Regions from separate parts of the Homo sapiens genome. Here all the other regions are linked to region 3. The links are contacts of gene promoters, found by promoter capture Hi-C in blood cells and fetal thymus (Javierre and others, 2016). All regions are on one chromosome and are shown on one strand. Each heading gives the region's core, a stretch centred on a gene start or on the middle of the fragment in contact. The rest is flanking DNA. Distances are from core to core; before and after follow the strand shown. Region 1 has its middle 13 kb from the start of TRIM36. Region 2 holds the start of TMED7 (transmembrane p24 trafficking protein 7). Region 3 holds the start of SRP19 (signal recognition particle 19). Region 4 overlaps AP3S1 (adaptor related protein complex 3 subunit sigma 1). Region 5 overlaps CCDC112 (coiled-coil domain containing 112). Region 6 overlaps PGGT1B (protein geranylgeranyltransferase type I subunit beta). Region 7 overlaps TMED7-TICAM2 (TMED7-TICAM2 readthrough).

Region 1 (4,213 bases), core at 911-3,410, 2.3 Mb after region 3:
CGGCGCGAAGATCTGGAAAAAAGCCCCATCTCACTGTCTGGAGGTGCGAGGGCAGACAGAAACGAATACAGAGGAGGCGCAACAAAGGGGCTGGCTGCCAGCGCCGGAAAATAAATAAATAAATACATAAGTGAAGGCCAGGAAATGGCAACGGCGCATCTCAAGTCAGCCTTCCTGAAATCCAATAGGTAATAAAGACCAAGCCCCGCGCTTCGGAGATGAGAACAAATACAGGGATTGTATTTTAAACACTCTGTGTAAGGTCTGTTGTATCTCCATATCCTTTTGATACTCAACTTTCCTTTAACAACGACAACAAAAAAAAAAAAAAAAGAAAGAAAGAAAGAAAAAAAAAGAAGAGGAAAGAAAAGAAAAAAAATATTGCCAGCCAGGTTCCTGGACACTCTGACCGTTAGTTACCACAAGTCCACTTTTCTAATTATTTGTTTCGTTGGTTGAGTTAAAGCATTCAGTGCAGGCTTCTCACATTTCTATACTTCTTTTTATAACAGCAGCTTCCCTAGGAGGCTACAGCTGAAATGGCCTCAGACCATACCTGACAATCTTTGCTTCTCTTCAAAAGAAAACTTGGCTGAACAAAATCAGTCCCAGTCTATCACTCTGCTCTAAGGAGTCTTTGCGATTAAAGGCTTGATGTTTTTTCTTTAAAAAGAAAAGAAAAAAGCTGCCAGCAATAATTAGATTAGACACGAATAAGATTTACTACAAAGTTCGTGAAACTACTTTCCTTAAGCAAGTTGGCAGAGTTTGCGTTGCGCTCAGCACCAGTGGGCAGGGTGGTGTGTCGAAATGACCTATTTTACAGGTGTAAAAGAGTTTTGCAGGCTTAATGAGACGTGGGGGTTTTTCTTTTTTGCCTCTTCCTTTTGTCATTTTCTAATTTCTCCACTTTGGTCCAGAAATCCAGAAGCATACACATTTCTTTCTTTTTTCAGCACACCTCTCCGTAAAGCTCCAACAGTGTTGCTCTGTAACTGTTGTTCTACCAGAACTTTGCTTCTTCGGTGTGTTACTTTACTTTATGAGCTGGTGCTGAAAACCTCTTAGAACAAGCAGCAAAAGTTAACATGCTGATGTTCACAATTAGGGCTCTGTAGGAGGCAAGACACAATCATAATGCTTCTTGGATATACAGCTAGAAGCTTCTTGTCCCTCTTAAGTTCTGTAGAACTTCATGTATACTCTTTGCGTCCATAGGAAAACTAGTAGAATTCAACTAAGGTCTGTAGCATCCATAAATGGGTTCTTGCCTACTATTAGCAACACTTGATGGATTACCAGAAAGAGATATTGCTCTAAAAGTGAACATTTTTTCACACCCAGAATGGATTCTGGCACCTGATTAAAAACCACAGTGTTAGAGCTGAACAGCTAATCTTATGTCTGCATTACAAGCAGGAAGGAGGAAGGTAGAGACAAGAGCACACAAGACATTTGTTTCCCCTTAAAAAGCTTCCCCCAGCCCCATCCAGTGACCTCCACTTACACCTTTGTGAGAAATGGGTAATATGCATCCCCTAGCTCCAAGGAAGGCTGGGGAGGTGATTATTTTGTTCTGGGAACATTGCCACTCTAAACAAAATCAAGGATTTGTTAGTAAGGAAGAAGAGGAGACAGATATCGGGTAGAAAGTTGTTAGTTTCTATTAACCTTGAGTAAGTCCATTCAACTTTCAGAGCTTCAGTTTTCTCTTCTATAAAATGACTGGTGTTGACTAAATGGTCTCTAACCCCTTCCTGTTCTTAACCCTAAAATCTCTGATCTGAGGATCCCTTTGCCATCTGGCCGCATTAGCTGCCATTCTCCTCCCTGAAAAGATCGCTCTTAAAAAAGGGCTGTCCACCTGATCACTTGCTACTAGAAAATACTCCAGACAAAATATCCTTATCAGTTGCCTAGATTCCTACCCAAGACCAAGAAAGTGGTGGAGGCAAGAGTTTTAGAGAACATAAGTTGGGTCCTGAGCATTTATTTACACCAATGCCTGGTGGTATTTACCACTCTTTATTGTCGTTGTGTGAAGAACACTCTGGAGCATTAAAGACCTTTCAAAGAAGATAGGCATATAAAAATGAAGACCACATTGAAATTTCTTCTGAAATTCTATGCATGCACTCACTTCAAAGACACAGGGTCAAACTGTCAATAGGTACCAAATAAAAGTTGCTTTATTATGTCCCTTTCTTCTGAAAAAAAGATTAAAATCATATAAATTTAAAACTTCACTCCCTAAAAGAACCAAAATTAAGAAAAATGTTAATTCATATTTCTCTAAAAATAAGAATGAAATTAACATGACAGATGCTGCTTCACAGGGGACTTCCCCACCTAAGAGGAAGATATTTAATAGAGGGATTATATGATGTGTGAATTTTTCACACTGAGAAGACCAGCAATATTAAAGGGTCCCTTGCTGTGGAAAATCTGCTAATTGCCAACTTTCATCAAATGGAGAAAATTCTTCAACTGCTCTATTGCTATGCCAATTATTGAAATAAGTATTACATAGAGATTTACAACATTCTATTTTCTCCTTCTGATGGCAACCAGCATAATACATAATAGCTTGAACAAATAACATCAACAAAATACACAATCCAAGTTTTCTTTTTAATGGTGACACACAAATTGTATTTTTGAAGGTTTTGAATTTAAAATCTGTGAAGAATGTTCAGCTTTTTAAGAGTTAGAGACTGAAGAAACCTAAAATATCTTACTTTTAATAAACTCTCACATTTTCTTAGTTTTTATTTCAAAAATGTAAACCTAAAATTTGACTGATACCTGTATTCAAAAAGGTCATTTTAAAAAAAAAATCTTTTTTGAATAAGCTTTATTGAGGTACAATTTATATACCATAAAATTCACTAATTGTCAGTGTACTGCTTAGTTATTTTTATTAAATTATGGATTTGTAAAACCATCTCATAATCTGGTTTTACAATATTGGAATATTCATTTATTGAGATTTTCTTTAATTTTTCCAAGCAATGTTCTATCACTTTTAATGTTCAGATATTGTACTTATTGTATTACATATTGCAAGGTACTCCTTTTAATATTATTGTGAATAAAATTGATTTCTTGGTGTCATTTCTTGGATTGTTAATTACTGTTATATAGAAACACAACTGATTTTTGCATAAGGTTGTGTTTTACAATGGGGCAAAATTCACTTATCAATTCCAGATTTTATTTTCAGATTCCTTATAATATCATCTGTAATTAAAGACAATTTTATTTCTTCCTTTCCAATCTGTATGCCTTTATTTTTCTGCCTTATTACTCTGGTTAGAACCTCCAGTAGAACCTCCATTGAATGCATGCAGCAAGTGTGGGCATCCTTGCCTTATTCCCAATCTTGGGGAAAAAGCATTCATTCTTTCACCATTAAGTACTGATTGGTTTGGCTACATTCCATGACTTTTGATTTTTTTAAAATTAAGTTAGAAATATTTTTAAAATTTCCTATTGTGATTTTTTTGACCCATGGGTTATTTACAAATGTGTTAATTTCCAAATTATTTCAAATTTCCAAATAGTTTAGATTTTCTATTTTTCTGTGTGTTGATTTCTAATCCAATTCTGTTTTGAGCAAAGATCATCCTTTGAATGATTTTAATGTTTTTAAATATATTCAGGCTTTTTAATAGTCTAATGTGGAAGTCAGCAACTTTTTCTTAAAGGGTAAGATATTAATGAACATTTTAGACTTGAAGCCATATAATTTCTGTTACTACTTGGCTTAGTACGTGTTGCTACAAAAGATTAGCCTGGGACTGGATAATTTATAAGGAAAAGAGGTTTATTTGGTTCATGGTTCTGCAGACTTTACAGGAAGCATGGTGCCAGCATATGCTTCCAGTAAGGCTTCAAGAAGATTCCACTTATGGCAGAAGGTGAAGGGAAGCTGGCATGTCACATGGCAAGAGGGAGCAAGAAAGAAAGGAGGGGGGGGGTGTCATGCTCATTTTAACAATCCGTTCTCATGAGAACTAATAGAACAAGAACTTAACTCATTACCACGAGGACAGCACCAAGATACTCATGAAGGATCCACCTCCATTACCAGAATAGCTCCCACTGGACCCCACCTCCAACATTGGGGATCAAATTTTAACAGTAAATTTGGAGGGGACATATATCCAAACTATATCACTGCTCAACTCTGCTGTTACAGGATGAAAGGGAC
Region 2 (3,766 bases), core at 787-3,286, 2.8 Mb after region 3:
AAAGGAGTAAGAGCTATAACAATTTCATATCGGGCTTTCCTGAGAACATACCTGAAATGCTTAACATACTGTCTACACATAACAGATGCTAATTTGTTAGCCATTGTAGTAGTATCCTTAGCACTAATCACTGAGTCTGCATACACAAAAATCCAGGAAATGTTTATTAAATTCAAACAAAGAAAATGTCGGCTTATACTTTTTATCACAATTCCTGCTATCTTCTTTTCTGTCCCCTGGTGCTAATCCATGAAGGTAAGTAAGCCTAAGGGTCATCCTTGGCCTCCCCTCCCTGACCCACTATAGCCAAATCATTACCAAGTCCTGTTGATTCTACCTACTACCTTCTCTCCAATCCTTTCACTTTTCATTTACCCCACTGCTATCACTCTACTCTAAGCCACTATCATTTCTTGTCTAGACCACCATAATAACCTCCTAATCAGCCTTCCACATCCGCTCTGCAACATCTTACCATCACTTCTCTACCTGCACAAGTTATTATTAATGCAGCTACCAAGAATATTCTCGTCATATCACTGAACTGCTTATAACCCTCTGATGGCTTCCTACACTTTCAGGAAAAACAAATCCTTAACATGGTCAGCAAGACACTATCTGGCCTGCCCCTGCTGACCCCCTTGCTCTGGCTCCTTATTCCCAACCATATTGGACCTCTCTCTATGGCCCTGAAATTCTCAGTGTTCACTACTACCACAGGCTATTCCCCCTCCTCCCTTACCAAGGTGTTTATAGCTCATCCTTTAAAGTTCAGCTTAAAATAATTTTCCAAAGGAAGTCTTCCTTCATGGATCCTACTTACTGCTCTTAAGGCACAGTTCTGATGAATGAGCAGATACCAGTTAAGAAAAGCAGGGTGAGAGGGGAATCATGAATGATGGCAGTGACCCTATCTGTTTCGACCACTTCTGTACCACTGGCACCTAGTATTCAATAGCTACTCAAATGTTAAATGCGCCTACCAACCAAAATTGAAGCTCAGTAAAGACTGTTCTAACCAACCGAATAAACCACATTCTGTTAAAGTTTCTTTTTTATATAATCCCAAATATCAGAAGGGGCCTCTCATTTATCACAGCAATTCTTTCTACAACTCCCTTGGCAAATGGCCGTTCAACCTGTAATGGAGCTCTTCCAATGACAAGGACCGTATTAACCAACAGTCCTAATATTGGTAAAACTGAAAAGCAATGAAGTTAGACATTGGCAGCACTCCAAATCCAATTAAATTGGAGGTGTGGATTAGAGAGTAGAGGGTTGACACTGGGTACTACAGAGTATAAATGATTTTCTTTAAGGGAATCTTTTAAGGAAGAAAGTTCAATAGGCCTTAAAAATGAGATGGAAAGAAATGCTAAAGGGAGCATTTCTGGAATTCATATATTTTAACACCCGGTCTTAACATCTCTCACCCAAGGTTTATTAGAGGAAAGTCAAATGCTGGGCATCAGCTACCTAGAAGCGATTTTTGAATTAGCCTAAGAACGGGGAAACACGGACAGGAAAGTGCCATCCCTCAAGTTACACCCCCAATCCTGGAGCCGCGAGTTGGGGCCCAGGGACTGCTAGGCCCCTGATACCTGGAACTCCAGGGTGCACTTGGTGCCCTGAGCGATGTCCTCGTAGAAGCACTGCTTGGCGTTGTCAGGAAGCTCGAAGGTGATCTCAGAGGCGCCGCCGGGTCCAGGCACCAGTAGCAGCAGTGCGAGCAGCCTGCACCCCCAACGGCCCGCGACGGCCGCCCAGCGCTGCGCGGACCCCGGCCGCGGCATCCCGAGAAGGCGGCGGCGGCCTCAACCGAGCTGCGAGACGCAGGGTCAGGTCTGCGCGGACTCACCGCGCGCGGCAGGCCTCAGCGCAGGCCACCCCGCAAAGATACACAGCAGAGCAGGTTCACGCCTGTGGGAGATTCGGGATCAGAGCGACCCTCCGGCTTCCTGTGAGGGGCGCAGACGGGCGGACCTGGGGAGGTAAAAGAGAAGCGGAAAAGGCCTGAGAGGGTCGGAAGTGGGGATTAGCCTTTCGGGGGGTGAAGGGGCGGAGCCTGAGACACCGGCTCCCGTGACCCGGATGCGTTCTTCTCCGGGAACACGCGTTGGAGTGCGTACGTGGAAGCCCGCGAGGCGTTGGCTCTGCCTCCGTTGCAGCCTGGGACGAGGGGCGGGGCCAGAGTCGTGGGCGGAGAGGGGCGAGACCAGGAAACGGGGCGTGGCGGCCGCCGTGGTTACAGGCGGTTGGCGAGGGTAATTACGCTCCAATCACTGGCTTTTTTTGTTGTTTTTTTTTTTTTTTTTTTGAGACAAGAGTCTCGCCCTGTCACCCAGGCTGGAGTGCAGTGGCGCGATCTGCGCTCACTGCAACCTCCGCTGGGAACTTAGCGCTGGGGAGCATCTAGGGAGTGGTAAAGGGCTCATTTTGCCCTAGGGTGCTAATCGTTGGTGGTAGAGCGCTTTGCAATTTGCGGAGTTTTCTCATAAGTAATAATAAATATTTGGGGGAAGCAGCTGGGCAAGGAGCGCGAATTCTAAGAGCAGACTGCAGGAGTGCTTAATCCCTGCTTTGCCACGTACTGGCTGTGTGACGTCCGGCCACTTGCTTAAATTCTCTGCCTCAGTGTGTATCTGTAGAATGGAGATAATAGCACCTACCATAGAGAATTATTACAAAGTACCAATATTTGGAAAAAGTACCTAGAAGTGGTTGGTACATAGCAAGCACTAGATGAACTTTTGTTAAATTAAACGTCACAGTGCAATCAATACATTACATACCACAAGATAGGCAAAAATTTTAAGTGTAACAATAACAGATATTGGTCGACTTATAGAGCCACAAAACCTCTTATACACTGCTAGTGAAAAAGTAAATTGGTTAATCAAGTTGGAAAACAATGTGCCATTATCTAATAAAGTAGAATATATGTATACACACACAGAACACACACACCTATATACAGTGTGTGTGTGTGTGTGTGTATATATGTATATATATATATATATATATAGCCTGGAATATGTAGCCACAGCCTGGAAATTCCATTTTACATATATTTATGGAGTATATGCTTTAGAGCAGTGGTTCTCAAGTGTTGCTCTGAAGTCCCCAGAAGCCTCCTGAAACCCTTTCAGAGGGTATGTAATGATCTGTATGAAGCTGGATTTTCATTATATATTTCAACCAAAACAGCATAACAGATTGAATATCAAAGGAAATGAGCACCCAGCTTCTTCCTTAAATCTAGATATGAAAGATTTACAAAAATAAGGTCACTCTTCTTGCTAAATTTTTATTTCGAAAATATTTTTATTAAAAGATGTGTTATTTATGTAAATGTGTGCAGTGAGTTGAATTGTGTCCCCCTAAAAAATACATGTCCAAGTTTCAACCCCTCCACCCCTGTGAATATGATTTTATTTGGAAATAGGGCTTTTGCAGATGTAATTAAGTTAAGGCCCTCAAGATGAGGTCATCCTGGGACTTAGGGTGGGCCCTAAATCTAAAGACTGTTATCCTTATGGTATGGTTTGGCTGTGTCTCCACCCAAATATCATCTTGAATTGTAGTTCCCATAATCCCCACATGTCACGGAAGGGACCCGGTGGGAGGTAATTGAATCATGGAGGCAGATTTTTCCCATGCTGTTCTGGTGATAGTGAATAAGTCTCATGAGATCTGATGGTTTTATTGTAGTTCCCATAATCCCCATGTGTCATGGGAGGGACCTGGTGGGAGGTAACTGAATCAT
Region 3 (3,666 bases), core at 563-3,062:
ACTGGTTTGAGCTTCTATCCAAACCCCTAAAACTTTCTCCATATCAGCAATAAGGTTGTTTTGCTTTCTGATCATTTGTGTGTTTATTGAAGTAATTTCCTTTTAATTCCTTCAAGAATTTTGTCTTTGTATTTACAACTTGGCTGTTAGGTGCCAAGAGGCCTAGCTTTCAGCCTATCTTGGCTTACATATGCCTTCCTCACTAAGCTTAATCATTTCCATCTTTTGACATGTGAGACGTGTGACTCTTCCTTTCACTTGAATACTTAGAGGCCATTGTAGGGTTACTAACTGGCCTAATTTCAACATTGTTGTGTTTCAGGGAATAGGGACTCCAGAAGAGGGAGAGAGATGGGAAATGGCCAGTTGGTCGAACAGTTAAAACATACACAACATTTATCCATTAAGTTCCCCATCTTATCTGGGCATGGTTCATGGTGCCCCAAAACATTATTATTATTTGAGACGGAGTCTTGCACTGTCGCCAGGCTGGAGTGCAGTGGTGTGATCTTGGCTCACTGCAACCTCCACCTCCTGGGTTCAAGAGATTCCCCTGCCTCCCGAGTAGCTGGGACTAAAGGCCTGTGCCACCATGCCTGGCTTATTTTTTATATTTTAGTAGAGATGGGGTTTCACCATGTTGGCCAAGATGGTGTCTATCTCCTGACCTCGTGATCCACCTGCCTCGGCCTCCCAAAGTGCTGGGATTACAGGCGTGAGCCACCGCACCCGGCCTTAAAACTATTACAATAGTAACAGCAAACATCACTGATCACCGATCACCATAACAGAAATAATGAAAAGGTTTGAAATATTGCAAAAATTACCAAATGTGACACAAAGTATACGCTGCTGGAAAAATGGCACCAAGCAACTTCTTTCAGGCGGATTTGCCAAAAACCTTCCATTTGTAAAAAGGCAGTATCTACTCGCAGCAGCAAGTGAAGTGCAATAATGAAGTATGCCTGTAGTGATGGCACATGGTATCCTTCAGAAGTTTTAAAAGGTGAATAGTTTTGTTTCGTTTTTCCTAGACGGAGTCTTGCTCTGTTACGCAGGCTGGAGTGCAGTGGTGTGATCTCAGCTCACTGCAACCTCCACCTCCTGGGTTCAAGTGATTCTCCTGTCTCAGCCTCCGAGTAGCTGGGATTACAGGCGTGTGCCACCACACTCGGCTAATTTTTGTATTTTTAGTACAGACGGGGTTTCAGCATGTTGGCCAGGCTGCTCTCCAACTCCTGACCTCATGATCCACCTGCCTCAGTCTCCCAAAGTGCTGGGATACAGGCGTGAGCCACCGCACCCGGCCTAAAAGGTGAATAGCTAAGTTTCTAACGCAGAGCACACTGAAACACAACGTCTATAACTTTGCTAGTTCTACCACTACAAAAATCCATTTTGCCAAACTGAAAGCAAGCTCTAGAGCCCAGGAACGGAGAAAAATTAAACGTAAGGAGTATTTCCTTCCCTGTCTAACATATATTTGCATCCTGAACCACACAGATTCCCCTCGTGGCACAGTCTTCGCCCCTTAACAGAGAGTAGCTAGTACCACCCATACTCGCTGAGAAACTGGAAACGAGGGAGGGTCGAAGTTAAACCCTTTTTAGTGGCGGTGCATGCGCCCCACATGGTCTTCCCGGCTTGGGAAAGGAATGAGAAGCTTTCATGATTCTCTCGCGAGAAGGGAAGTCTTCATGCCACGTCAGAGACTAGAGATCCTGGCGCCGAGCGACAGGTGCCGGAACAAACAGGCGATGAGAAATCGCGGACGCGGAACCATTTCTTGGGCAGGACTTCCGGCGGAAAAGCGGGCTGTCTCGGAAACTCAGAGCCGGGTTCCTCCCGGGTTTCTGCCGGGTTTCTCCCTGCGGCTCCTGGGTTGTTGAGACTCTTGTGAAGATGGCTTGCGCTGCCGCGCGGTCCCCGGCCGACCAGGACAGGTGGGTTCTGAGGCGGTGGGTCCTCCGAAAGGAAGGGGCTTGCTGTGGTGCTGCAGGTGCTACACCGCGCTTCTCCGCTCCGCGGCCTCCAGAATGGCCTAGCTGATCCAACTCGCTCTGTACGGGCCCCGCGCCTCTCCCTGGCAGCTCGTTTTTCTGAATCCTGCAGCAGCCACCAGGCTCTTCTCAGGGCTCCTGAAATTCCGACCATAGGTAGCCTAGTGTTTATCTGTACGCGAGACAAGGATTTTGGGTGCTACGTGGACATGATATCAAGTAATATAATCACAGTGTGAGAAATGTGTTCTTTTTAAGTATTGTTGCGTTCAGAAAGGCTCATTTGTGAAATTTTAAGGTTTTTAATACCTCGGACACTTTATATAAGAGGGCGGGCCCATTCTCAGGAACTTTTGACGGGCTGCTCTGTCTAATGTAACAGTTACCCAAGTCGTTTTGTTTCTATTCCTGTGGTTTTTTTCCATCCAAGGTAGTGGATAAAGTTTATTTTTAAATAAGTTAAAGTGAGGTAATTTAAAGAAATAACATTAAGCAAATAATAGCATAGGTGTACCAGCAATGATGACGACTACCACGGACCGAAAGAATGTATTTTTGAAAATACTTGTTATCTGTTGAGTGTAGTTGTCCAGGTTCTTGGCGTTTTGAATAAGGAATTGAACAAAACACACAAAGCAAGGCAGCGAAAGCAGATTTATTTTAAACAAAAGTACACTCCACAGGGTGGGAGCCGGCTCCAGCAAGCTACCCAAGAGCTGTTGGTTACAGAATTTTCTAGGGTTTAAATACCCTCTAGACGTTTCCCATTGACCTGTGCCAGTCTGATTGGTTGAGGGAGGGGGATCAATCAGAAAGAGGAGTAGGCCCGCGGCCAGTCTGATTAGTTGCTCGAGGGGACCACTCCGAGGTACTTTGATTTTTCAACTGCCACGCAGAAAAAGGAGGGGTTGAAAAGGGAGTACCCATCTGATATCTAGGCAGCATGAATTGGCCTTTGGTTCCCTGCCACCCGACCCTTTTCTCCTGCCTCTTACTGCTCTAGTGATACCACTTATGCTATTGTCTATGGCAGGTTTATTTGTATCTATCCTGCTTATTTAAATAATAAGAAGACCATCGCAGAGGGAAGGCGAATCCCCATAAGTAAGGTAAGCAAGATGGCTGGCACCTTGATCCTCGAGGGAATGGGGGGTGTCATCCTGGTCGGGCCACGTAATCTTGTTAGAGCCGCAGGGGGTTCTCTTCACTGCATTTATTTAGGGCTTGAGAACACAGCCAAGAATTGGGGTGCGTTCCTCAGTGTTGGTGAAACCAGAAAGGCATTAATTCATAGCTGAAGGGATATTTTTTTAACGTCTCTTAATGAGCCTTTGTTTGTAAAGGAGTGGGGGCAGAGTGTAGAGTTCACATGTTTTTAAAACAAAGGTTATGACGGTGTTTCCCTTGATATAGGAAATCAAAATTATGACATTGTACGATACATTAATAATGTTCAGAATGTAGTTGAGATTTTTTTAAGTGTGTGAAGAAGACATGCAGAAAGTTCAGCCCTGTTGAGTTTTATTAAAGTGTCATTTGTATTTTGTAATATGACAGATTTAAGACACCTAGGTTTGATGCAGTGAATTCTCCCATGATGAGTACATCTGGGTGGTAACAAGCACTCAAAAAAGAAAACACTACAAGCATCCAGGAAGATTGCTTT
Region 4 (4,018 bases), core at 557-3,056, 3.0 Mb after region 3:
TTCTGAGGTTGTTAATATCAGGAATAGTTCCTTGTAATATGCAATACTGAACCTGTGTCACAATAGATCTTAATTTCAGGTTTTCCTTATATCAAAGTATCCTCGAAAAACCCAAATGCTTATACGTTCACAGTTTTTATGTGGAGTATGCTGGAAAACTTGCTTTTTAAAAATTAAGACTAAACCTTTTGAATATTTAATTGTAAAGGAGGAAATAAAGTCTTCAAAGTTAAAATGATTTTTGGTTATGAGGTAAGTGTTATAAATAGGACAATGTTATAGGTCATTTCATGGCTTTTCTAAAAGAAGGCCTTACGTGACGTACCTATATTATATTCTTTAGCAAAGTTGTTTTCAATTTTAAGTAAGTTTCTTTTTTTGTGACTGTGGAAAATTAAATATTAAGGCCACTAAGGTCATTCTTGATTTTACCACACACAGATAATTATTAACACTTAGTGTATTTCCCCCCGGTCTTTATTTTTCTTTTCAGAATGTCCCAGTGAATAGGATATACCTTTTAGACATTAATAACACAAATAAATGCTTTGAAGCTGATGATGGATTTATTAAACATTGTGGCTTTAAGATAACTGAATATGTTAATGTTCAGCCACTCTCTTGTTAAAATTTAAAAAAGACAGTATATGGTAATAGCACATTAATAATTTGCATGTCCTAAGAAATGTGTATATATCTTTCTTTTGTATAAAATTAAACTTACCTGTGTAACCTGAGGTTATCAGTGTCCTTGTCTTTTTCGTTCTGAAAGGAAATCTTTGCTAATTTTTGTTTGAAAGTCAAGAGTTCATTCTTACCTTTAGCACTTAGTCTTTTTTGTACCTGTGGATTATGGATTTTGTCACTGCTGTTTTATAATTCAAGGTGATTCTGAGTTGTTACCATCTAGAGGGCCCAGTCCCCTTCCAACTTCTTGTTGTATAAAACTGTCACATTAGGCTAACTAAACACATTTTTTCCTCACCCATCTGCCTTTTCAGCTTTCCTCTCATCAAATCCTTTGAAGTACAATATAGTTAAAACAGCTTTCTTTGCTGAAGAATCAAGCAACTCTTAGAAGGATATTGAAGTGAATAAAGGACAATTCTAGCTAATAACTGTTTTCTTAAGATTCCAAGTGGAGGAAGCCCTTGTAGAGTTAGGCCTCTGACTAGGCCTTCTAGAGATAGGCCTCTGGGAAGAGGGGTGGTCTTTCTGGATACTTTCTGATCTGTCTCTCCATTACACTCTTTCTCTTTTCCTGTCCATATTCTTTCAAGTATTTATTTGTTGTTTGTATGGCCCTATTCTAAGCACTAGTAATACAGTGATAAGTAAGACGGATGTCACCCTTGCCCTGTGGGTTTACATTCTGGTGATAGGAGATAGGCAGTAAATTATTTAAGATTGTAATTAGTCTGAAGACAAATGAAACAGTATAAGGGAATAAAGCTTGATGGAGGAAAGCCTATATTAGATAGGGTCATTGGGAATACCTCTTTGACGACCTGACATTTGAGAGGAAAACTGAATGAGATAAGAGAGGAAGAATATGAAAACAGTAAAGAAAAGAATGTTTCAGGCAGAAAGAAGTGCAGTGTCCCTCAAATGGGACCACACTTGATGTGTTCAGGAATAGCAAGAAGGCAAGCTGAGAAATCACGGGGAAGAGAGGCAGGAGATAAAGCTAAAGAGAACGATGGGGACAGATCATGCCTGTATGCCACACCATGCCCCTTCTTGACATAATTCAGTTTGATGACATCATGCCCAGCATGTTCTCCACAAGAGGAGATACTCCTCTTTGAATCACACTTGCATTTTGCCATTTAAACAGTGCCTCTGCAGAAGGGGCAGTGAGGCTCTCCTCTGATTGGTTACTTTCTTCTCTACCCAGTTATTGTTAGGCTCTGTAAAGAAGGTGTTGCTAGGCCAGTGAATGAAGGTAAAAGTCAGTGCATCAAAACCAGGCATGGTGTGTGCCTATAGTCCCAGCTACTTGGGAGGGTAAGGTGGGAGGATTGCCTGAGCCCAGGAGTTGAGGCTATGCTAGGCAACCATAGCAGGGCCCCTGTCTTCTAAAAAAAAAACAAAAACAAAGGAAACAAAAAACATGAGTGCTCCAGTTCTGTATAGCCTCTCTATCAATGAGACCTGTGATCAAGCTTTCGTAAGTCACCTGTGAAGTAACAGAACTCAAGAAGAAAACCATTTTTTTCTTAGCTTATTGTCTTAATTATATGTGAATAGAGTTTATGTGAAGCCCACTAGACCCACCTCTATTGTACTGAAAAGCATTTACATTTTTCCACTCTTGCAAGCCTGGTGTAATTACAAGAATCACTTGCTGTCAGTCACAGTTCTCTTTGTTACTCAGGAGGAAAGGGCTATCTTTTAATATTCCAGACCCACTGAATTGTTTTGATTACCTTGTGCTTACTGAGGAAGAGTACTAGTTGATTCTACCGCATACATATCCTATTTCCTGTCATTAATATATCTTAGTGTGACATGAAAGGGTTATAAAATAAATTTTATTGTAGTAAAAAATATATAACAAAATTTATCATTTTAACAGTTGCAAGTGTACAGTTTTGTGGCATGAAGTATATTCACATTGTTGTGTCACCATCACCACCCATCCATCTGTAGAACTTAGTCTTTCCCAACAGAAACTTCTTACACATTAAACACTAACTTCCTATTCTCCCCTTCTCCTAGTACCTGGCAAACACCATTCTACTTTGTGTCTCTATGAATTTGACTGCTCTAAAAACCTCATATAGGAGGAATCATAGAATTTTTGTGTTTTGGAAACTGGCTTTTCTTTTAGCACGTCTTCGAAGTTCACTCATGTTATGTAGCATGTATCAAAATTTCCGTAATTTTTAAGGCGGAATAATATTTCATTGTATGTGTGTACATACCATCGACCTAAAAGGAAGAGGCTGAAGCACAAAATAGGATTCAAAGAGTTTACTTGAGCCAAAATGAGAACAGTTGCCTGGGAGACTCAGACTCAAGTATCCTTGGATATGAGCTCCCTTTGGCCATTGTTACAAGCAGGTTTGTGAAGGCATTAAATAAAGGGGACATGGAGTGGGCTGATACTAAGTTGTCTGTCAGGAATTCTCACTAGTTTATAGAAATAACTTTGGTTAATGATTGACTAACATTGTTGAGATGCAGGGAGTAGTTTATAGTGTGTGGTGCAGCATTATTAGGTTATTTTCTAGTTACTTGTGGCAGTATAAAGCAGTTTCAATAGATAAATATTTCTCATAGCTCAAAGGAGAGAAGTAGGATGTGATTGCTGTCACATTTTAATGCCTTTCTGGGCCAGATCATTTAAAAGGACTTGCATTCCTCAGATAAAAGTTTCTTTCTTGATGCCGTATTTTGTTTATCCGTTTGTCAGTGGAAACTTGGGTTGCTTCCATCCTTTGGCTATTATGAATAATGCTGTGAACATAGATGTACTGATATCTGTTTGAGTGCCTGCTTTTACTTTTTATAGGTACATACCCAGAAGTGGAATTGTTAGATTATATGGTAATTTTATGTTTTGCTTTTTTGTGGGGAAGCGGCACATCATTTTCCACAGTGGCTGTACCATTTTACATTCCCACCAGCAATGCACAAAGGTTCTAGTTTCTCTACATCCACGTTATTTTTTGTTTTTTGAAAATAGCCATCTTAATGTTTATGAAGTGGTGCCTCATTATGGTTTTGATTTGCATTTCTTTAGTGACTAGTGCTGTTGTGGGTCTGTTTGTGTGTTTATTGACCATTTGTATGTCTTTGGAAAAATATCTATTTGAGTCTTTTGCCCATTTTAATATTCAGTTGTTTGTTTTTGTTGTTAAGTTGTAGGAGTTTTAAAAATATATTCTAGATATCAGTCTCCTGTTGTATATATGATTTGCAAATATTTTCTCTGATTCTGTGGTTGCCTTTTTACTCTGTTGATAGTGTCCTTTGATACACACAACTGTTTAATGAGATTTAACTTACGTTT
Region 5 (3,891 bases), core at 27-2,526, 2.4 Mb after region 3:
GCCACCGTGCCAGGCCTATCTGCTCCTTTTATTTTCATGGGCAACATCCCTTTCCTCTGATCATCTCATTTCTGCTTCCAAATTCTCTTTCTAGGCTTAGAATACTTTCTGAGTGATCTTTATCTGGTCAAATATCAGAAGAAGAATTAAGAGTAGGGTGGTTAAGAACATGAGCACTGAAGTCAGACTATTTGGGACCAAATCCTGGCAGTGCCATTTACTAGGTGTGGCATTGGATGAGCCACTAAACTTCTCTGTCCTCATTTTGCTCATCTATAAAATGGTAGGTAGGATTTCTTGCACAGTGTTGTTATGAAGATTAAATGAGTTAGCGTCTGGCACATAGTGCTTCCGAAGTATGTATAAATAAATAAATAAAACAGCTCAATAGCTACAGAGCTGTCTTTACATATGGGTATGTAAAAATTATTTCAAATTCTAGCAGGCTTCTCCATGCCATTTAGGGCATATTCACTGAATTACCTTCCCTCCAAGTCAAGAAACTATTTCCTCATCTTTCTTTATGGTGTATCATTCATTCCACTCAATAAATCTTTATGGTATGTATATATACTATAAACAAGGCAATGTGATAGGAACAATGAAACAATATTAAAACTATACCAAATGCCACCTAGTACAGTGCTACTCAAAATACCAGTCTGCAAAAATATTGGGAATTTGTGTTAAAACGCAAATCAATGCACTGCTTCTTTCAATGTGAAAATTTTCTATGGAAAAAAAAAAGTCAATTGAACTAAACAGTGCTCACTGCATAGTTAATTCTGGTGCAACTATTTTATCCCACTGTAAACCAGTAACAGTTTGCAAACCCATATTTAGTCCATGGACCAAGTCTGAGCAGCACTGTTCTAGGTGAAATTCAACATGGGCATACCACAACACATCATATAAAAGGTGTTAAGTGTCAGTGAAATCCTGAGGGAAGCTACTTATGTTTGGGTGGGCAAGGAGGAGGCAACATCTGATCTGGGCCAATTTTGATAAGCTGGGATTGGAGGGGGAAAGAAAGAATGGAGGTTCCAGAAAGTGAGAACAAGATAAGCAAAGGCATTCAGGCCAGAAAGTTCAGAGCATGTCTGAAAATGTCAGAATAATATCTTCACTTATTAAAAACACAAGACATATTAAAGGAAGTGGGAGATAAAAATGGTAAATTTACTACTCAACATCTTAAAACTCCGTAGATTTAAAACTGAACTCCTGATATTTTCCTCCAAACTTCCCTTTCCTCCTCCAACATGCCCTACTTCAGTAAATGGCACCTCCACTTTCACAAACCCTTCTATCTCACCCCTATGTCCTGCTCATATCGTATCAAACTGATGATATATCAGTCATCAAATATCAGGAAATAGAGCAGATGGGAACAAGGAAAATAAGCTAGAATCTGAATGGTTTACTTTTATCACAAGAAGCAGTGTGTCTGTTTCTTTTTCCTAAAGAGGTGGTTTTCATTAGCAGAATAAACTAGAGGACTTGGTAAAGCACAGATTGTTGGGCCTTACCCTCACAGTGCTAATTAGGTCTGGAGTTGGAGCCCGCTAAGTTCTAATAAGGTCCCAGGTGATGCTGATTTTGCTGGTCTAGGGACCACTTTGAGAATCCCATGTTTTCAGCATTCTGGGGAAAAAAGCCCAAATGACTTATGTTTCAAACATTTTTCTTAAAACCCGAGAAGTCAATTTCCCTACATTCAATTTATTGCTGGGGGGAGGGAGGAGAATGACAAGAACAACAAAAATGCAGCTATTCCCTCTAAAACTTTAGACTAAACATGGACTCAATTATTTCTTTAATATTCCTTGGGTATACCATCTATGGAATAAACACAACCTTTTTGTTAAACCAGGTAAGTCAAACTTCGTCATCACTGAACTCTACAAAAGAAAAAAAAGACTCTGACTTACTGTGGTTCTCAACTAGGGGCTATTTTTCCCCTCCAGTGGACAACTGGCTAGAGGCATTTTTGATAATCATAATTAAGGAGACATTATAAGCATCTACCCGCTGGAAACCAGGGATGCCATCCTATAATGCACAGAACAGGCCCCCACAACAAAGAATTATCTAGCTCCAAATGTCAATAGTATCAAGGTTAAGAAATCCTGATCTAATGCAAAGCCAGAGTAATATTTTTGTAAAAATGGACCTTTTTAGGTATCTGCCACAATCAGGCGTTATTTTTTTTTCTGGGGTAGCTAACATTTTGAGTCTTTAAAATAAGCAATATGGTTGAAGTTTAAAAATCTCAAAGAAATGTTTACTAGTCAAAGCATTTTTTCTACTGCCTCTTGATTTTTCTATTCAAAACAATGTGGCCTTTGCTCGTAAGATGACTTTTTTCAAAAGTCTCAGTGGATCTGGATTGCTCACATTTCTGAGAAGTGGATACGGAGGACTGGACCCATAATCAGAGGCTTTTTGTCCCATTATGTTATTTGTGACAGAGACATGTTTGGCTATGAGGAAGTCCAAATGTTGTTCTATTAATTGGGTAAAATTACTTAACTTCCTTTTTTTATTTTTATTTTTTCTTGAGACTAGGTCTCGCTCAGGCTAGAGTGCAGTGGTGCAATCACAGATCACTGTAGCCTCAACCTTCTAGGCTCAAGCAATCCTCCCACCTCAGCTTCCCAAGTAGCTGGGACCACAGGTGCGTGGCACCATGCCCAGCTAATTTTTCTGTATTTTTTGTAGAGACAGGGTTTTGCCATGTTGCCCAGGCTGGTCTCAAACTCCTGAGCTCAAGTGATCCATCCGCCTTAACCTCCCAGAGTGCTGGGATTACAGGTGTAAGCCACTGTGCCTGGCTAAAATTACTTAACTTTCAATGCCTCAGTTTCATCTTCTATTAGATTGTCGGGGGCGGGGAACTATAAACACACTTCATGGGATTGCTGTAAAGTTAATGAGACATGTTAAGTGTTTAGTACAGTGCCTAGAACATAGAAACACAGAATGAATAATAGCTATTATAATTATTACCTCTTTTTTTCTTTCTTCTAGAGCCAGAAACTTTTGATACCATTTTTCATGCTGTTGAACTTCATCTTGTGTTTTTCCAGGAAGGTGTTCTAGAACTTCTTCCATAAATGTTGGCTTCCCTTTATGTTTGTTTCTCACCTTTACAAAGTTCTGGTGATCATAATCATCCCAGGCACCTTGTCGCCCTCCTGTTTGCTGAAGGAATTTTTCAAAATCTAGTACCTCTTCTGGAAGAGTACTTGGTGTTACTTTGTCTACAGGAACTTTGCTTGAGATTGCTCTGAAAGCTTTCTCTGTTTCTGAATTACCCAAAGCCCATGTGTCAATTTTTCTTGATATGGCACTCAACTCATTATTAGTTGTCTTCTCTTCTTTAATTAGCTCTTCATATCTAAAATTTTAAAAATAAAGTTTGAATAAGAAGACAATCCATATTAACCCTTAATTTTCCATCAAATTTAAGATACCTGACTCTTTATATCATCTTCTCCACTTAACATTATTAACATTTATAAATTTAAGCCTTAAAAGAGTCTCCTCAGAGATAAAAACAATCTTTCAAATTCTTATTTGGGATTTTATAGTAACTAAATATGAATAAAATTTCGCTTTAAATATGAAAAGCCACCTAAAACTGAAAACAAAAAAGATATTATATTGCTTTTGTATAAGACTCAAATACATAATAACAGAATGCATTATATACAAAAATGTACTGGGGCCAGTTATTAAAAAATAAAGGTCAATAATTTTATATTAAAATGAGTTTAAAACATACATCAACCTCTGCTCTTCTTTAAAAGTGTTAATTGCATTTTCAATTTCTTCCATCATTTCTCTGAGCTTCTCAACAACTGTAAAAGAAACACGGAAAATTATTTT
Region 6 (3,632 bases), core at 969-3,468, 2.4 Mb after region 3:
TCTAGAATAGTACTACAGGTTGAGTATCCCTTATCTGAAATGCTTGGGACCAGAACTGTTTCAGATTTCAGATTTTTTTTTGATTTTAGAATATTTGCATATACATGAGATGATACCCCACTGGGACAGGACCCAAATCTAAATATGAAATTCATTTAAATTTCATATACATCTTACACACGAAGCTTATTTTATATAATAGTTTAACAATTTTGTGCATGAAACAAAGTTAGTGTTAAGCACTTATGTGTGGAATTTTTCACTTGTGGCTTCATGTCAGTGCTCAAACCGTTTCTGATTTTGGAGTCTCTCAGATTTTTGGATTAGGGATGCTCAATCTGTACCAACTTTAGGAGAGATGAGAAAATAGTGATTTCTTCTCTTTTTTTTTTTTTTAAGGGCAAATTATCGCTCTGATCCCTGGTGGAAAAAGACTAGCAGCATCCATTAGATAACAGGAGGAGATATCAGAAAGTAATTTAATTCCAACCAAAGCTTAAGGGCAAAAACTAAAACTACAGAGATTTGGGTGCACTTCAGAAATAAATATTTGGGAAACATCCTATTGAGAGACTATTACCATGTATTAGACACTGAGCTGGGACATTTCTCATATATTATCTCAATTTAATCCTAACAACACACTGAGATCTATTTGAATTAGAGAGGTAATTTATCTAGGTAAGATCAGGATTATATTAAGGGCAGTGGAACTCCTTTATGTGGGAAGCAGTGTTGTACAGTAGTTCAAAGCTCAGACTCTGCAGTCAAATTTCAAGTTGGCCAATTTCACTAGACTGACCACATGACTCTGGGCAGGATACCTAAACTTTTCTAATCAGCTTCCAATAATTATTTTAATCATTACTATACCTTATACAGTAATTGTGCTTACCTACTCACAATAAGCACGCAATAAATGGAAGCCATTATCCTTGGTCTTTGCCATGATTTGGAGGGACAAGAGTAACAACGACTTTAGGATCTAATCACAGTCTATAACACTACAGGCCTTTTCTATAGACTCTTGGTTGTAACCATTTTCCCCAGAGGAATGTGCTTCTCCAAACACAATAAACCTTTAGACATGGGAAAAACCTCTACATAATAGCAACAAAGTGTGAAAATCACTGCCCTTGGTGGTAATTATGTCTCATGAGAGAAGGTCCACTTTGTTTGTATGCACTCAAATATTTACTGAACTAATAAAGGACCTGCAATACTACATCTAACCCTCCCGGAGAGCTCTAACAGGGTTTTTTGGTTTTGATATAATACATAAAGTAAATGATTATATTTATAGTCAGGTACAATTAAGCATCTACTAATACAGTTTATTAAAGCGTTATTAAGGAAAAGGGCAAAAAGAAGACAGAGACAAAAGTGGAGGAAAACATGAAGGACTTGAGGTCAGACAATGGATAAAACAAAGATCTTCCTGTCAGTAAAAGCTATGTAGTAAGAGAATTTATGCAAAAGGCTATAAAAACAAGTTGGCATTTTTTTCAAAATTAAGAAATTTAGAAATGATCTAGTCCATCTCTTTGATTTTCTAACTGAAGAATATAAAGCCCAAAAAATTCAAGTAATTTACTTGAAATTTCAACACTAGACAATCAAAACTACTCAAGAAGTCTAAGTCCCAAAGTGGTATTCTCCACAGGGGTGCTTCTCATTAGAATCTGCTTAAAAACTGCTCATTAGAATCTGCTTAAAAACAAACGACCAAAACACCACCAACATAACATAGAGATCAAGGTCCTACTTCACAATCAAATCTATGGGTGTAAGGTGGGGTCTGGGCCCTTTCGGTTTGTTTTTGTATTTAACTTCCCAGGTAATTTTAATGTGCAGGCAGGTTTCAGAAGCACTGTTTGAGAACAGTGGTTCTCTACTGGGAACACTGACCCTAACATAATATATCATAATCAAACATTCTTGGTTGTCACAGTGGAGGAGGGAGTTACTGGCATCAAGTGGGTAAAAGCCACGGCTGCTGCTAAATGTCTACAATGCACAGGACAGGTCCATACAACCAAGAATTATCTGGCCTAAAATGTTAATAGTGCTGAGGTTGAGAAAACCTGCTTTAAGGTCATACTCTTATCTGTATACGTTATCTGAATGATCTGTTTGTCATGTTACTTGCTCCTGGATATGAATGCACTCTACATGTAAGTGCCAAATACAAGAAATCAGCCATGTGATGGTATTTTAAAATCTTGCATACTTAATTATTAAGGGCTCCTGAAAGTCCAGCATTTTCAACTCATAGGTGAAGACTTAGGGTGAGACCATAAGGTTTATGAGAGTAACAGAGTTATGGTGAATGGCTTATGTTTATAAAAAGAGGTCCCATCAGAAATGCTTGGCAGACAGAACCAATAAGTCACTTTGGGGCAAATATCTGGCCTCCTTTAAAATAGTCTGGGAAACCATTCCTCTTCCAATCACATCAGAATTCTCAAGTAGTCCTAAAACTGAAAGAGAGAGAATTAAAACAAGCCACAAAAAACACAAAGGAATTTTGGGCTGTGGGCCTCCCAGAGAAATAGTATAATGTAGGGTTTTATGGTTCCTAGATGACTTCTACTTGGGAATAAACTGCTGGGCAACCTGACTCAGCACAGGTGTATAGAGGGGTAATTGTGCGAACACACGCACCTAAAATCAAGCCAATGAAGTTATTTTTACTTTTTTACTTCTTTCAGAGAATATCTGTTTATTCTGTTTCTTCTTTTCCCTAGAACTCAATCTGAATCTGCAGCCTGAGAAGTGTAAATAAGCAAACAATATCTTTCTGTTCACCCCTCTTCTCTCACTCTGAACAATATGTATAAGAAGTTTATCTTACAAGGATGAAAAAGTAACATCCCCCAACCCCCAATCAAGTTGCTTTACCAAAGAATCAATTCACAGACAAGAGGGTTAACCTAAGTGTCTCCAAAAGATGTCAAATATTCCAGGCTTAAGACACGCATACCCCAAAGATTAAATAAGAACAACAAGAAGGATGGGCGCAGTGGCTCACTCCTGCAATCCCAGCACTTTGGGAGGTCAAAGCGGGTGGATCAACTGAGGTCAGGAACTCGAGACCAGCCTGGCCAACATGATGAAACTCCATCTCTACTAAAAATACAAAAAGTCAGCTAGGCGTGGTGGTGGGCACCTGTAATCCCAGCTACTAGGGAGGCTGAGGCAGGAGACTCACTTGAACCCAGTAGGTGGAGGTTACAGTGAGCTGAGGTTGCAGTGAGCCGAGATCGTGCCATTGCACTCCAGCCTGGGCAACAATAGCAAAACTCCATCTCAAAAAAAAAAAAAAAAAAAAAGAATGAAAAACAGTCTATAGTCTGGACAGTGGAAAAAAGAACTTAGTCATACTGATATAAGAAATATACTGAAAACACTAATTTATGAGAGTTGACTAGATTCCCAAACTTTGGATCCCTTGTCCTGACCCTTTCTGGTGCAACCCCATCCTTTACCAAGTGTCTTAAACAAGTGTCTTAAACAATGGACTACATTCCTGCCTAGATACCAGATGGGCCTATGACTACATCATATTGCATCTAAAATTATAAATAAGCATCTACATTAAGAAATAAGAACACAAATAAAATTGATAACCA
Region 7 (3,637 bases), core at 481-2,980, 2.7 Mb after region 3:
CGGTAACATGATGGTTACATTGGGCAATTTCCATAAGAAATAGGTAGCACTTTGTCTTCACAAAGATAATTCACATTCAAGGTATAAATCTGCATTCTCTGCCTGCAGTGTTTCCACTGGCACTAATATTCTTGACATTTCTGAAGGTTTTATCCATTGCATAGGAATCCCAAAAACATTTCTTCCAACCAGGTACACAGTTTATGGCAATGGAAGTGAATTCAATGGTTTTAACACATGCTTATCTCCTAAAGTAACTAGCTTGATAGAACAGCTGAGTGGCAAAATGAGAGCTCGGTTACAGAGATATCTGGGAGGCAACATCATGAAAAGGTAGGGTGGTGTCCTATAGAATGTGGTACATTAATTTAATAAGCAGTCAATATATGGAGCTGTCTCCCCACTATCAGGATGCACAGGTCTCAGAGCCAAAGGGTAGAAGGAGTGTTTCTGTTCAATAGTATACCTAAGAATCTACGTGAATAATTTTTGCTTCCCATTCCCAAAATGTTGGGCTTGGTGGGTTTAGAAATTCTAGAGTCCAAGAGTAGAACACTTCCTTCAGGAAAAATAATCATGTTTTGATGATTTAGGAGCCGAGACTGGCCCTGGCCTTTTGAGGTTCCTCATGCCATTAAAGTAACAGAAAAGCAGCTCAATGGACTGGCCAGGGTAGCTAATTCCAGTTATCAGAGGAAAACTGTGTTTCTGTTTTACAATGGAAACAAGAAGGCTATATAGGCTATATATGGAAACGAGGAAATTCACTGGAATGCCTCTTAGTGCTAACAGTCCTAGTCAGTGGAAAACTGCAGCAACCCAGTAAAGACAGGCCTATCAACGGCTCAATTCTGTAGAAATGAAGGTTTAGGTCACTTCATTAGACAAAGAATCCCATCTAGTCAAAATCCTGGAGGAAGGTAAGAAGAAGGATTACTAAGCTTGATTATGGTACTTTATTCCCCCAGAAATAAAACCAAAAGATGGTTTACTAGGACGTTCAAAATCAATAAACTTCTAGCCAGATAAGTCAAGAAAAAAGAGAGCAGATGCAAATTACCAATATTAGAAATGAGAGAGGGACATGACATTCCAGTTATTAAAAGGTTACTAAGGAAAGATTATGAACAACTTTATGCCAGCAAATTCAACAATTTATATGAAATGGAAAAAATCCTTAAAAGCCAAACAGTCAAGATGAAACAGATTATTTTAAAAGCCCTAAATCTATCAAAGAAATTAAGGTGTAGTGAAAAATGTTCCGAAAAAGAAAACTTCATGTCCAGGTGACTTCAATGGTGAACTCTACCAAAACATTTAAGGAAGAAATGATACCAATCCTACACATACTCTTCAAAAAAATTCAAAAGGAGGGAATACTTCTGAAATCATTCTATTAAGCCAGCATTAGTATCATACTAATCAGACAAAAGACATTACAAAAACAGAAAACTAAAGACCAACATCGCTCATGGATATAGATGTAAGATTCTAAACAAAATTTGAACAAATCAATGATGGTTGAGAATTTTCCAGAACTGATGTATCAACCCACAGATCTAAGATGCCAAACAAAGCCTAAGTGGGAAAATACAATAAAATCCTCACGTATATACAACACAATGAAACTCAAAAAAAAAAAATTATAATTACAAAGAGAAAATCGTGAAAGCAGCCAGAGGAAAAAAAAATGGATTAGTCTAAATGGAGCAAAAGACTGACAGGTGACTTCTTCCCAGTAACAGTGGAAGTCAGAATACAAGGGAAAGTTATCTTTACCTTTCCAGATAACCATCCATTTCAAGGGAGAAAAAAAAAGTCCTTCAAAAAGAAGGCAAAATAACGACATTTCAAAAAACAAGAGCAAAGTAAATGTGCCACCAGGTGACCTGCACTAAAGTAAATTCTAAACATATACTCAGGCAAAAGAAAAATTACTCCAGATGGAAGCTCAAAGACACAGCAAGGAATGGAGAGTAAGAAAGGTGGCAAATTTGTGGGTAAATCTAAGTCAATATTAACTATATAAAACAACAGTAATAACTTACATTTAAAGAGATACAACATATGTGACAACCACATATATAAGCTGGGAGGAAAGTAAATGGGATTAAAGTGTTCTAAGGCTACTGCACTGCGCAGAAGTCTGGGCGAGTTTAGGCGTTGATAAGTCAGAGATGCATAATGAAATTTCTAGAACAACCATGAACAGAAATATATACAACATCCCATCTGATAGGTAGAAGAAAAAAAGGAGTAACAAAAACAAAACTATCAAAAAAAAAGTAGAAAAAAAGGAACATAGAACAGATAGGACACATACTAATAGTAACAACAATATGATATAAACGAGACACCTCTAAAAACTAAATATACACAAAGACTGAAAGTAAAACTGTGGAAAATGATATACGACACAAGTGCTAGCCAAACGAAAGCTGGTATAGCTACATTAATATCAAATAAAATTAATTTTAAGGCAAAATTTATTAGTGGAAATAAAGATAATTTTGTAATGATAAAGCTTCTTTCAATTAACCTGGAAAATATAACAATTATACATTTGTATCCCAATACAAAATAGAAAAAGAGAGAAATTGAAAGAATCACACAAACACATCTAAAATCATGCTAGCTACATTTTAACACAATTCTCTTAGTAATCAAGAGATATATACCAAAAACAAAAAAATCATCACTAAGGATACTGAAGACTTGAAAATTAATGAACATGACTAAAATGATTAATGAACATAAATAACTGTAGAACTCTTTTCAAGCATCCTAAAATTTATAAAAACCAGCCACTTATTATGTCATAAAGCAACTGTTAACACATTTCAAAGAATTTAAATCATATAGAGAATATATCATCTGATCACAATTCAATTATGTTAAAAATCAACAATAAAGGAAAACTTAAATATTCATGTTTGGAAATTATAGTTCCAAATAGTATCTATGGATCAAAGTAGTAATGATAATGAAATAAAAAACTTTGCAGTTAGTGAATAACTAAAATGCTAGATATTGAGACTTGTAGAATGGAGTTAGTAGTAGGCAGAATTCTAAGATGGTTCCTGAAATCCTTTCCAAGCCCCATATCCATACCTTTGTGTGGACAACGCCTGTTACATTTAGTAAGAGAATATGGCAAAAGTGAAAGGATTTTGCAGATGCAATTAAGGTGCCTATTTAGTTGACTCTGACTTAATCAAAAGGGAGACTATCCCAGGTGACTCTGACCTAACCAAGTGAACTCTTTCTGGCCTTCTCTGAAACAGATTCTAGTCAGAAGTTCTGCTGACCTTAAAAAGGCATGTCACGTTACACTGCTTATATAAAAGAGCAGCCCTAAGTAGCTGAGGACCTCAGTTCTACAGCTTCAAGGAACTAAGTTTTATCAACAATCTGATTAATTTAGAAGAGAACTGTGAGCTCCAGATGACAATGCAGTTCAGCTGACTTCACTGCAGCCTTGTGAGACCCTAAACAGAGGACCCAGTTAAGCCATGCTGAAACTCTTAACCCCAAGAAATTGTGAGATAATAAAATTATGCTGTTATAAACCAGTAAACCTGTGGTAATTTGTTACCCAGCATAGAAAACTAACGCAAGAGATAAAGTAGCATTATCA

The links. Contacts are between HindIII fragments. The CHiCAGO score rates a contact against its expected background, and 5 or more counts as called.
Region 1: a contact is called between a fragment that was not itself captured here and the fragment with the promoter of SRP19 in region 3, in 1 of 17 cell types (fetal thymus). The highest score is 5.4, in fetal thymus.
Region 2: a contact is called between the fragment with the promoter of TMED7 here and the fragment with the promoter of SRP19 in region 3, in 7 of 17 cell types (total CD4 T cells, naive CD4 T cells, non-activated CD4 T cells and 4 more). The highest score is 13.3, in total CD4 T cells.
Region 4: a fragment that was not itself captured here is called in contact with the fragment with the promoter of SRP19 in region 3 in 2 of 17 cell types (fetal thymus and activated CD4 T cells); the score reaches 9.3 in fetal thymus.
Region 5: a contact is called between a fragment that was not itself captured here and the fragment with the promoter of SRP19 in region 3, in 1 of 17 cell types (M0 macrophages). The highest score is 7.1, in M0 macrophages.
Region 6: a contact is called between a fragment that was not itself captured here and the fragment with the promoter of SRP19 in region 3, in 1 of 17 cell types (total CD4 T cells). The highest score is 7.4, in total CD4 T cells.
Region 7: a fragment that was not itself captured here is called in contact with the fragment with the promoter of SRP19 in region 3 in 7 of 17 cell types (total CD4 T cells, total B cells, naive CD8 T cells and 4 more); the score reaches 9.3 in total CD4 T cells.

What each region holds. Positions count from the first base shown.
Region 1 is chr5:115,180,517-115,184,729 of GRCh38, forward strand. No RefSeq gene overlaps it. Among named protein-coding and RNA genes, the nearest start is that of TRIM36, 13 kb to the left of the region's middle. The HindIII fragment of the contact is 1,379 bases long and covers 1,472-2,850 here.
Region 2 is chr5:115,624,000-115,627,765 of GRCh38, forward strand. It overlaps TMED7 (transmembrane p24 trafficking protein 7), which reads right to left and starts at 2,037. Exons shown (of 3, transcript NM_181836.6): 1 at 1,602-2,037. The coding sequence starts at 1,793. It overlaps TMED7-TICAM2 (TMED7-TICAM2 readthrough), which reads right to left and starts at 2,037. Exons shown (of 4, transcript NM_001164469.4): 1 at 1,602-2,037. The coding sequence starts at 1,793. RefSeq lists a silencer at 1,693-1,762 and an enhancer at 1,933-2,102. The HindIII fragment of the contact is 9,571 bases long and covers 1-3,766 here.
Region 3 is chr5:112,859,475-112,863,140 of GRCh38, forward strand. It overlaps SRP19 (signal recognition particle 19), which reads left to right and starts at 1,813. Exons shown (of 5, transcript NM_003135.3): 1 at 1,813-1,943; 2 at 3,034-3,109. The coding sequence starts at 1,903. RefSeq lists enhancers at 1,578-1,872, 1,631-1,710, 1,811-2,110. The HindIII fragment of the contact is 2,166 bases long and covers 1,662-3,666 here.
Region 4 is chr5:115,847,815-115,851,832 of GRCh38, forward strand. The region is part of intron 1 of AP3S1 (adaptor related protein complex 3 subunit sigma 1); the gene reads left to right. Among named protein-coding and RNA genes, the nearest start is that of AP3S1, 7.9 kb to the left of the region's middle. The HindIII fragment of the contact is 713 bases long and covers 1,451-2,163 here.
Region 5 is chr5:115,272,207-115,276,097 of GRCh38, forward strand. It overlaps CCDC112 (coiled-coil domain containing 112), which reads right to left. Exons shown (of 10, transcript NM_001040440.3): 5 at 3,788-3,863; 6 at 3,010-3,400. Among named protein-coding and RNA genes, the nearest start is that of PGGT1B, 11 kb to the left of the region's middle. The HindIII fragment of the contact is 4,036 bases long and covers 1-3,294 here.
Region 6 is chr5:115,254,220-115,257,851 of GRCh38, forward strand. The region is part of intron 1 of PGGT1B (protein geranylgeranyltransferase type I subunit beta); the gene reads right to left. Among named protein-coding and RNA genes, the nearest start is that of PGGT1B, 6.8 kb to the right of the region's middle. The HindIII fragment of the contact is 3,451 bases long and covers 494-3,632 here.
Region 7 is chr5:115,604,848-115,608,484 of GRCh38, forward strand. All of the region lies in intron 3 of TMED7-TICAM2 (TMED7-TICAM2 readthrough), which reads right to left. The region is part of intron 2 of TICAM2-AS1 (TICAM2 antisense RNA 1); the gene reads left to right. Among named protein-coding and RNA genes, the nearest start is that of TICAM2, 4.2 kb to the left of the region's middle. The HindIII fragment of the contact is 1,583 bases long and covers 940-2,522 here.